3 separate regions of the Homo sapiens genome follow, and regions 2 and 3 are each linked to region 1. Evidence: promoter capture Hi-C in 16 types of primary human blood cells and fetal thymus (Javierre and others, 2016). All regions are on one chromosome and are shown on one strand. Each heading gives the region's core, a stretch centred on a gene start or on the middle of the fragment in contact. The rest is flanking DNA. Distances are from core to core; before and after follow the strand shown. Region 1 holds the start of PUS7L (pseudouridine synthase 7 like). Region 2 has its middle 2.3 kb from the start of ABCD2. Region 3 overlaps SLC2A13 (solute carrier family 2 member 13).

What was found. Contacts are between HindIII fragments. The CHiCAGO score rates a contact against its expected background, and 5 or more counts as called.
Region 2: a fragment that was not itself captured here is called in contact with the fragment with the promoter of PUS7L in region 1 in 1 of 17 cell types (total CD4 T cells); the score reaches 6.1 in total CD4 T cells.
Region 3: a contact is called between a fragment that was not itself captured here and the fragment with the promoter of PUS7L in region 1, in 2 of 17 cell types (naive B cells and total B cells). The highest score is 7.2, in naive B cells.

The regions. Positions count from the first base shown.
Region 1 is chr12:43,757,056-43,760,336 of GRCh38, reverse strand. It overlaps PUS7L (pseudouridine synthase 7 like), which reads left to right and starts at 1,547. Exons shown (of 9, transcript NM_031292.5): 1 at 1,547-1,607. IRAK4 (interleukin 1 receptor associated kinase 4) reads right to left here and starts at 1,386. Exons shown (of 12, transcript NM_016123.4): 1 at 1,321-1,386. RefSeq lists enhancers at 680-739, 1,360-1,469, 1,810-1,859. The HindIII fragment of the contact is 3,611 bases long and covers 877-3,281 here.
Region 2 is chr12:39,620,448-39,623,728 of GRCh38, reverse strand. No RefSeq gene overlaps it. Among named protein-coding and RNA genes, the nearest start is that of ABCD2, 2.3 kb to the right of the region's middle. RefSeq lists an enhancer at 2,306-2,385. The HindIII fragment of the contact is 1,017 bases long and covers 1,043-2,059 here.
Region 3 is chr12:40,101,118-40,104,398 of GRCh38, reverse strand. The region is part of intron 1 of SLC2A13 (solute carrier family 2 member 13); the gene reads left to right. Among named protein-coding and RNA genes, the nearest start is that of SLC2A13, 3.3 kb to the left of the region's middle. The HindIII fragment of the contact is 1,142 bases long and covers 985-2,126 here.

The DNA.
Region 1 (3,281 bases), core at 298-2,797:
GGAGAGCCTACCAATAAGCCAGGTGGGACGTGCTGCAGGCTGGGACCAGGGTCGTAGCAGAGCAAGTGCAGAAGTCCTAGGATTCTGAGGTGGAGCCAATAGAAAGCTATGGGCTGATGTGGAGAGTGAGAAGACAGCATAACCAAGTTTACCGATATTTACTGAGATAGAGAAGGCTGAGGAAGGAGCAAGTTTGGCCTGGAATATCAGAAGCTCAGTTTGGAGAGGTAGAAAGCAAACTTCAAATGAACGCTCTGCAGGAAAACAGAAGAAATTTGAACTTCCCGATAGCCCTCTTCAAGGACCACTCCAAGAAAGGGAAAAGGCAGATTTTAGTATCCTCTGCTTACCAGGGGCCTTGGGCAGTTACGTTTTTGAAGCACTAATAGCGCCGTTTGTTCCCATTCTAAATGCTCAAAGTGCTTTCTCGCTTTCTCAGGGTTTGCTTTTTTTTTTTTTTTTTTCTTTTGAGACGGAGTCTCCCTCTGTTGCCCAGGCTGGAGTGTAGTGGCACGATCTCGGCTCACTGCAACCTCTGCCTCCTGGGTTCAAGCGATTCTCCTGCCTCAGCCCCCGGAGTAGCTGGCATTACGGGCGCCCGCCACTATGCCAGCTAAATTTTGTATCTTAGTAGAGACAGGGGTTTCACCATGTTGGCCAGGCTGGTCTCGAACTCCTGACCTCAAGCGATCCGCCCGCCTGGGCCTCCCAAAGTGCTGGGATTACAAGCATGAGCCACCGCACCTGGACAGGGTTTGCTTTTATCCCTTTGTCTCCCTCTGGCTTCCAAGCTGACAGGTACACTTTTTTCCCCCATCTGCGAATGTACTCATCTGATCCCATAAGCCGCCTCCACTTTCTAATTCCCTGGAAGCTTGGAGGCCGGAGAAACAAGCGAATTACAATCGTGTGGAGGCTCAGCGAGCTGCTGGCGCCACAGGCATCTGTCAGGTGCTGGCCTGACTTCCTGGTTCTGGGGAAAAGAGACTTCATTTCGCAGTCGGGTTCACGGAATCCAGGGCCTGAGAGGTGAGAAACTTGAGGTCCGACTGCGCCCCAGAACAGCTGGGTGACGTCCCTCCAAGCCTCAGGCTCTTCCTCAGGGCCGACGAACTTCTTGATTACCGGGGACCTACCCAAGTCTTTCTTCTGGAGTAAGCTCTGTCAAAGGAACCCACTTCCTCTCTAACTTTTCTCACGGATGATAAAGAGATTTCCGTTCCGCAGCCGACCCCAGCAACCCTGGGGCAGAGGTGCCGAGGCCTGGAAGCGGACCTCGGACGACGTTTGACCGAGGCATTAAGGCGGGGAATGCCTTACCTGCCCGGGCGCGGGCTGCTGAAGCCGGCGACAGAAGAACCAGCCGAACTAGGAAGCGCCGCGAAGGGGCGGGGCCTGCCGGGTTGGCCCCGCCCCACTTCCCCGATGGGCTTCATCTTGGCGCCTCCAGGCGGCTCCACAAAGTGAGAAACTCCACGTATTGCGTAGGGCGCGTCTTTACGTGGGCGCCTGCCCCTTTAATTACGCCCCTGTCGGAGGCTGAAACACTTAAGGCTTCCGGGCATGCGCACAGCGTTGTGCAAATGAATGCCTTCCACTGAACCGAGGTAGACGGGGTCGAGTTTCTTGCGCGATGGTGGGCTTGTATGTGTGTGTGTGTGTGTGTGTGTGGGGGGGGGGGGTGACGAGGTTGGCATTGAGGATCCATACCCTTTGCGCCCAAAGAAAGGTGACGTGGACTAGTGTCGTGCCTTTGGACAGGCAGAGTAAGAGGAGGGAGAAGAAACAGGTAGAGCTGCTGGCCTTGTCGGGGACACCTTTGGACGTGCTGGAGGGCAACGACGCCCTAGTTTTCTGTGAAGTTAAGTAGCTTCTGCAGGACTGGGTTCAGTATTTCTAGTACCTTCTCAGGATCCCTCCTCCGCCAACGAATTCCTCAACCACGGGCCAAGCAAACTACTCCCCCGCCCACTGTCAGCAGCAGTCTCTGTTGAATGGGAATACTGCACCTTCAGGCTTAACGCCACGTGGGCTCCTTTGCTGTCCTCCAGGTCAGTTCCACTCTTCTACCAGGATGCTGGAATTACATTCTCCCCAAGTTTCCCTACCTGTTTCACTTGCTTAGAATGTCTGTCTTCCTCCTTTTTTCTGGGAGAAAGAAAAGATCATTATTCTTTCAGGGCCAATCCCTACAGCTATGTTCTTGACCATGCTGTTTTGTTTTTGAACTCCTCTAACTGTTACTCCATCGGATACATCTTGCTCATTTCCATCAGAATCATCTTACAATTCCAAAAGCATGTTTTGGAATTGTGTCACTTTTCTACTCAAACACTAACAGTAGCCATCCATTGACCACCCAATAGATTCTAAGTCCTTGTCAGGGCATTCAACATCTTCCATAATCTGGTACTAACTCAGCTACATTTTCCAGCACTGTAGTCTCCCTGCATTCCCATCCCCACTGCTCTGTATCTGGACTGCTTGTTTTTCTTGCACACATTGCATGTTTTGTTTGTACATTACTTGTGAGGTCTCTGCCTCATTTCTATCTCTTGAACTATGGAGGACTTAGATGGCCACTTCTTGCATTATGCCTCTTCTAATTATCTTCCACTTCATTCCTACAGCTCTTATTTTGTACTAGTTATTTCATTTATTTAACAATAGTATTTATTGCAGACCTACCATGTGCTTGACACTGTTCAAAATGTGTGATCATCAGTAGTAAATAAGGCAGACAAGGTTACTCCTCACGTGGAACTAACATTCTCTTTGGAGGAGATATACAATAAATAATAAAGAAAAACTTTACCTAGAACTGCTATGCAGAAAATTAAATAGGGTTTTGTGAAAGAGAATCACTTGCTGGGCACGGTGGCTCACGCCTGTAACCCCAGCACTTTGGGAGGCCGAGGCGGGTGGATCACGAGGTCAGGAGTTCAAGACCACCCTGGCCAATATGGTGAAACCCCATCTCTACTAAAAAAATACAAGAATTAGCCGGGCGTGGTGGCGCGCCCCTGTGGTCCCAGCTACTCGGGAGGCTGAAGTAGGAGAATCGCTCGAACTCGGGAGGCGGAGGTTGCAGTGAGCCGAGATCATGCCACTGCACTCCAGCCTGGACGACAGAGTGAGACTTCGTCTCAAAAAAAAAGAGAATCACTTGCAGGTTCCTGTAGATTATTGGTCAGGAAAAACTTCTCTGAGGAAATGAATCCTAAAAGATGCAGCTATATGATTGGGGAGGGAACAATTTAAACAACAGGAACAGTTAGCAC
Region 2 (3,281 bases), core at 302-2,801, 4.1 Mb after region 1:
CATTTAATTCATTTCTTTCATGGATATTGGTAGGGTACATGAGAATATCACACTTGAGAGCACAGTGATTTGAGAATTATTGATTTTAAAAATTATTCTCATTGTTTCTCAAGATCTTTTCTAAGAAGATTTCTCCCCTCTTAAGAAAATTTTAATAATCTCCCATATAAACACACTTGAAGTTGAGACGTTTGTGTGGAAATTAGGCCTAAGTATGTTTTTTACTACAGTAACAAAGATTTTTTTCTCCTCTTTCCTAGTTTGGAATTCAAACTAAATTAACAGTCTCTTAGCTTTAATTGCATACTGTCAATAGAAAAAAACTGAAAGAAGGCCGGGCGCGGTGGCTCACGCCTGTGATCCCAGCACTTTGGGAGGCCGACGGGGGTGGATCACCTGAGGTCAGGAGTTCGAGACCAGCCTGACCAACGTAGCAAAACCTCATCTCTACTAAAAATACAAAAATTAGCTGGGCGTGGTGGTGGGCACCTGCAGTCCCAGCTACTTGAGAGACTGAGGCAGGAGAATCACTTGAACCTGGGAGGCAGAGGTGGCAGTGAGCCTAGATTGTGCCATTGCACTCCAGCCTGGGCAACAGAGTGAGGCTCCATCCCCCTCAAAAAAAGAAAGAAAGAAAGAAAAGAAAAAGAAAAAACTGAAAGAAGTACCTTGACATTCTTAGTTTTTTACTTAAATGCCATATATTATTGACCTAATTGTCCATATGGCTTCCTGTCTTCTTGAATCCTTCCTCTGCCTTATCTGAAGGCTTGTGTCTAGTCTCAGACACTAGGACCAACTCTTACCCTTGAGAGCAGGGAGAGGTGAATGGTGGGAGTGAAATTTAAGTGGTTAGAGTTAGGTCTTCACCTAAGTGGCTCAATATCAAATCAAATTTCACGTTGACATTTTCCACACTTCAAGTAACTCACTTTCAACCTTCCTTGTACCACGATTCAGGTAACAAAATTTCTGTCTTGATCATTTTCCTCATAAATAATTCTTCATTCTCACAAGTCTCTCACTCCAGATGCTGAAAGCTTGTTCCTGCACTATAACCTCATTATCAGTTGGTAAACTGACCTACCTCCAGCTAAGTCCTATTTGAATCTCTAGTGTCCTTTGCTTCTAGAGTTCTCACTGCCATGCTCCTCCCCTAATATGGCTGTCTCTGGTTGTATGTATTGCAAACCACTTGCCTCGACTGCCAGCTGCTGTCTGCATCCTTCTGTGTACCATGTTCTGCCTAACAACATCCTGCCATCACCCCCAGTTAGGTTTACTCTGGCCTTTAACCTGTCCTGTCACTGCTAACCCTTTTGTGTGTAGCTGTTAGGAGATGTGACATAAATGAAAGGCAACCTTATCTTGCATACAACAAAAGCAAGAGCTTAGGAATAAAAGATTTTGGCAATAACTTCCATGACCACTATTATCTGTACATACAGGCTTAAAAAGTCTTAATGGGATGATGGATTATGCTACTAATATGGCCAGCTATCAAAAAAACTTGCATGAGTTTGACACTCATGTGTCAGTCAGTCTGCTGAATTGAATGCAAACAAATGAAGAGATATGTGATGATTGTCAGAATTAATATGAGTACATAAGAAAGAAGTTTTAAAATTTTAAGAATATGGTTACTTATGAAAGTGAGGATAGTTCTTTGTGATAAACTCAGTAATGAAGATCATTTAATGCTGAGATGGGTTTTATATTCTAGCACAGAGGTTTGCAAACTTCTATAAAGGGCCAAATAGTACATATTTTAGTCTTTGTTGCATCCACCACTGTGGCTTGAAAGAAGCCATAGACAGAGAGTAAATGAATGGGTGTGACTGTTTTCCAATAAAACTTTATTTATAAACACAAAAATGAGAATTTTATATAATTTTCACAGGACAAAATATTCTTGTTTTGAAGTATTTTCAACCACTTTAAAAATGTAAAAATCATTCCTAGCTTAAGGGTCATATAAAATTAAGTGGCAGGCTAGATTTGGCCCACCAGTTGTAATTTGCCAACTTCTGTTCTAGCTTGATGCATATTTTCCTAAGCTTTTAATTGACTGGAAATGTGTATGTATGTTGGGGGCCAGCTGCTGGTGAACAAAACTGGCTGTAGCTACTGAGCATACTCAGTGTCACTTAGAAATCCCCAGAAGTTTCAGAATATATATCACTTTTGTAAGATTTCAGTAGATACCACAAGCAGAAGAGCAAGCAGAAAGGGAGATTTCCGAGAATTTTAATGAGATGGGGGGCGGGGACAGTGAAGAGCAAAAAAAATGGTTTTTCCATATCCAAAAATATACTCAGCCCTGACTTAAAAAATGCTCTTGGCTGGGCGTGGTGGCCCACGTCTATAATCCGAGCACTTTGGGAGGCTAAGGCAGGTGGATCACTTGAGGCCAGGAGGTTGAGACCAGCCTGGCAAACATGGCAAAACCCATCTCTACTAAAACTACAGAAATTAGCCAAGTATGGTAGGCGCACCCTCGTAATCCCAGCTACTCGGGCTGCTGAGGCACCAACCTGGGAGGCGGAGGCTGCAGTGAGCTGAGATCGTGCCACTGCACTCCAGCCTGGGTGACAGAGAGAGACTCTGTCTCATAAAAAAAAAAAAAAAAAAAAAAAAAAAAGCTTTTTACATTTTCAAAAATATGCAGAATTGTCCTTGACTGTTGAACAATTTAAATCCTCCATTATGGATGTGAAGAATTTTAAGACTCTTAGTTTTTATCAAATAACCAAATGGAAATAGGAAGTAGCCAGTAGATTATCTCTACAGCTAAACAAAACAAACAAAGCAGAAACCTGCAAAAGACAAAGCATTCTTGAAAAATGAAGTAAGGTCCTAGAGAAGCTATTTCCACCATCCAACACCAGCTGAATTCCCAAATGGTTAAACTTTCACTATAAGTGCTACCCCACTCCAAGTAAAAACTACCTAACACATGGGAGTAGTAAACATGAAACATTGCTCTCATTTATTTAATAGTCGTCACCTTGTAAATAAATATGAGTACATCAGATCTCCAGTTATGGGGCTGGAAGATTTTTAGCATAAGGACAAGTAGGATGCAGAGGAAAAAGGGAGAATGGCTAGAGGCATAGCAAATAATTATTTTCTGTAACACGGAAGACTTTTATCCTATTTATTTACAAGGGAAACCCTCGATTACAACTTGTCTATTAGGTTCTGAGACCTTTTGTGAAATCAGACCCCCAAAAAAGCCGGGGGGATCTGTGAAAAACAGATCCAAGTGTATTTGATATTTG
Region 3 (3,281 bases), core at 306-2,805, 3.7 Mb after region 1:
TTTTTTTCACCCTGGTTGCTGAGCAGGGGAGGTACAATTGGCAAGTTTTTGGCAGAGGGAAGCTATTTGGAATGTGCTCTGTATTATTAGAAAGCACTTTTGAGGGAAAGTGGGGGGCTGTGACTTAAATCTCACTAGTAATTTTTCTAAGACACACCGCTGATGCTTTTTTAATGTTTCGTTTCATAATTCAGTTTTTTGTTTCCCTTAGGGTGCTGTTGAAGTATTTCTTCCCTATGGCTGGGGCTTGATGAAAGCGCTTTAAACCTGGGGCTGCTGCTGATCTGTGTATTCACCACTTGTTTGATGTTTGTGCTTTTCACCCTTTCTCTGTGGGTTCTGAAGGGAAGCAAAGGCCATATATTCAACTCCACATGCGGGAACCATGAGCCTAAAACCCAGCTCACTGCACTTTATATTCAAAGTTTGTCAGTAGTGACCTTCCTTTTGCTGTTTATTGTACTGTTAATTAGCAAAGGTAGGGCAAAGCTCTCCGTAACATATTAAGTTGGCACAAAAATATCCAAAGTGACCAAAAAATCCAGCTGAAATGAAACCTATTTGTGTGGAAACTACTTGGGCCTTCAGGACCCTTCAACAAATAACCTGCTGTTTAAGTGACCACGATTCTTTTCTCAGCATTGTCTGCTTGGGACATCTGGACCTTTTTTGTTGCTTCTGACATAGAAATAACATCATTTTAGGTAGCAAGAATTGTTCTGTCAACCTCAATCTTTTCTGTAATTTTGAAATTGAATCATGCTTTGCAGAGCTGTCTAAATGAAGCTTCCTAGTGTTTTGCTATGGCAGGTATTGGTTAAAATCTTGGGTATTATGTTTACTCTTTTTATCTGACCTGCGAATTGAGCCCTGTTCTGTGTAAGGTCCCCTTCCAGATGTTGTGAGCTGAATAGTGAGGAGAATGTATTATACTTTAGTAAATGTAGCAAGCTGGGGCAAAAGCAACGTAGAACTTGCTAAGCTTTATAAGATAGGTTATCAGAGATGGCTGATGAATTCAGAGGGGGTACAGTTATCTCCAACAGAGGGAAGCCAGAAGCTCTTACCAATGGAAATGGTATGTTGACATGTCAGTATTTTAACAGAAACGAGGAAAGGACGTTCTAAGCAAGGGGCAAAATGGGTAAAGGAAGGAAAGCATAGGGCATACTTGGGGAATAGGTGGAAGCAGCAATAGAGGACAAAGCAGGAGATCAGATTGGAAGTGTTGGTGTGCAAGAGCTGTGGAGGCCTCTCTGTCTTGCAGCCTCATTCTGTGGTCTCTGGGCTGGTTGGTTCAATAGAGAAGCCCAGTTTAGATATGTTCTCCATTCAGTTCTGGTGTGGCCCATCTCACTTCCAGAAACATACCTCTCAGAATAGAAGCCCTGAGGCAGTTTCGTAAAAGCCCTCTTCATTTACAAAATGAAGAATGTTTTAAGATCATAAACAGGCTTTGAAATAGGCCGCATTCAAAACAAAACAGTAATGAAATAAATCCACTTCAAATTAGGATTAAAATTAGGATCTATGCAAAGCATGTAATTATACACATAAAATCATTAAAACTTACAAAGAAAATCACTTTTTTTTAAGCTACAAGGAAATGGGTTCCTAACATGAGCATTTTTTGAGGGACATTAAATCAGTTTGCTTGTTTGGTACACAATCTGGGTTAATTTTATGCCATTGTTTTTTAAGTAGTTAAATTTTATGTGTAGTCAGGGATTTGTTGTTTTGTCCTTATGATATTTAGGAAATGTTGATGAATAACAAAATGTGGCTTTTGATACCTTTTTCAGACAAGTTTGCTCTAAGAACTTCTTTCCTCCACACGTTTACCTGTGGTAAAATATACGGCCCATGTGGGTCAAGGATTTCTGCTCATTTTGTTCACTGATATATTCCTGCCACATAGGAGATACTTGTTGAATAAATGAATGGTGAGCAAAAACGAAAAAAAAAAATCCAAATTCCATTGCTGGTCGGGTAGCACTTTAAGGTAGGATTGTTCTTTTCAAACCACAAAAATAGTGCATTATCAAAATATTTGAAAGGGCATCTAAAGGTTTTGGTTGTAATAGTTTAATGAAATCATTATCTATTCAACACTTGCTAATTAAGCTTCCATTATGGATCCTGTCAGATATGGGGCAGGCAGTAATTAGATAAAAATCCCACCCTGGAGGTGTTCATTTTATAATGGAGTAGAAAGATACATAAACAAGCAATTAAAAGAGACATTTCTCTGTAGTGCCAGATGACACACAGAAGAGTAAGTGGTCAGTTGATTCTTTCAGGGAAAAAAATAGAACACAGGATTGAGGAAAGTTCTACAGTGGGATATTCAAAGTAGGGTTTGAAGAGTGAGTAGGTGTTCAGCAGATGATGTAGATGTAGCCAGAAAAGTGCTTATTTAGTGCTTTAGTATGTTCGAGACCTGGTGGAGTACTTTACACATATTACCTCATTTAATCTTCCTGAGTCTGAGGAATGGGTCTCCTTTTGTTGGGTGTGGAAACAGTTAAATGGCAAGGTCACTGATTACAGAGACAGGATTAAAAAAAAAAAACAAACAACCTTGAGTCTTTTGCTCTGTTACCCTACTGGGCATTTAAGGTGGAGTTAATAGCTGGTGTAAAGGCACAGAAAAATCAAATTAGTATTTGAAGCATAGATGAGTGAGGGTGGTGATGAGGTGGTCATGAGACTGGAATGTTTTGGGGGGATTAGGCTGAATATGGTTTATTTGGAGAGCTTTTAGAGGTTTTTAACAGTAAATAATGTAATCAGATTTAACATCTCTTGAATCTGAGATGTGAGGGTTTTTGTTTTCCCATTATACTTTTAAGCTCTTTTACCTTCTTTCTTAAGTCTTCTCATGTCTTTGAAATTTTGGGTATTAGCAATCATTTGCTGAGATGGCTACTACAGGATGGGTAAAGCATAGCATGTGACCGTGAATTACTGATATGGAAGGAGTCAGTGGACCCTTCAGTAGAAACCTTTGACAAAGGCGAAGATAGCAAGGAGTAGAGTGTAGTTATTAATGGGTATTAAATGAATTGTATAGTAAAAGACCTTAAGTATCAGAAGTCAGGGATATGTGTATTTGTTTTGATTTAAGGGTTCTGTTTTCTTGACTGGTTGTAAAAAAAATACTGCGTGCCTGTTTTAAATATGGCATTATTTTGGGTTTTCTTTTCTTTTTTTTTTATTGGTTCACCAGAGTCATCTTTGGTTCCTCTAGTTTATTTTTCTCTTCCACTTGAGTCCTGACA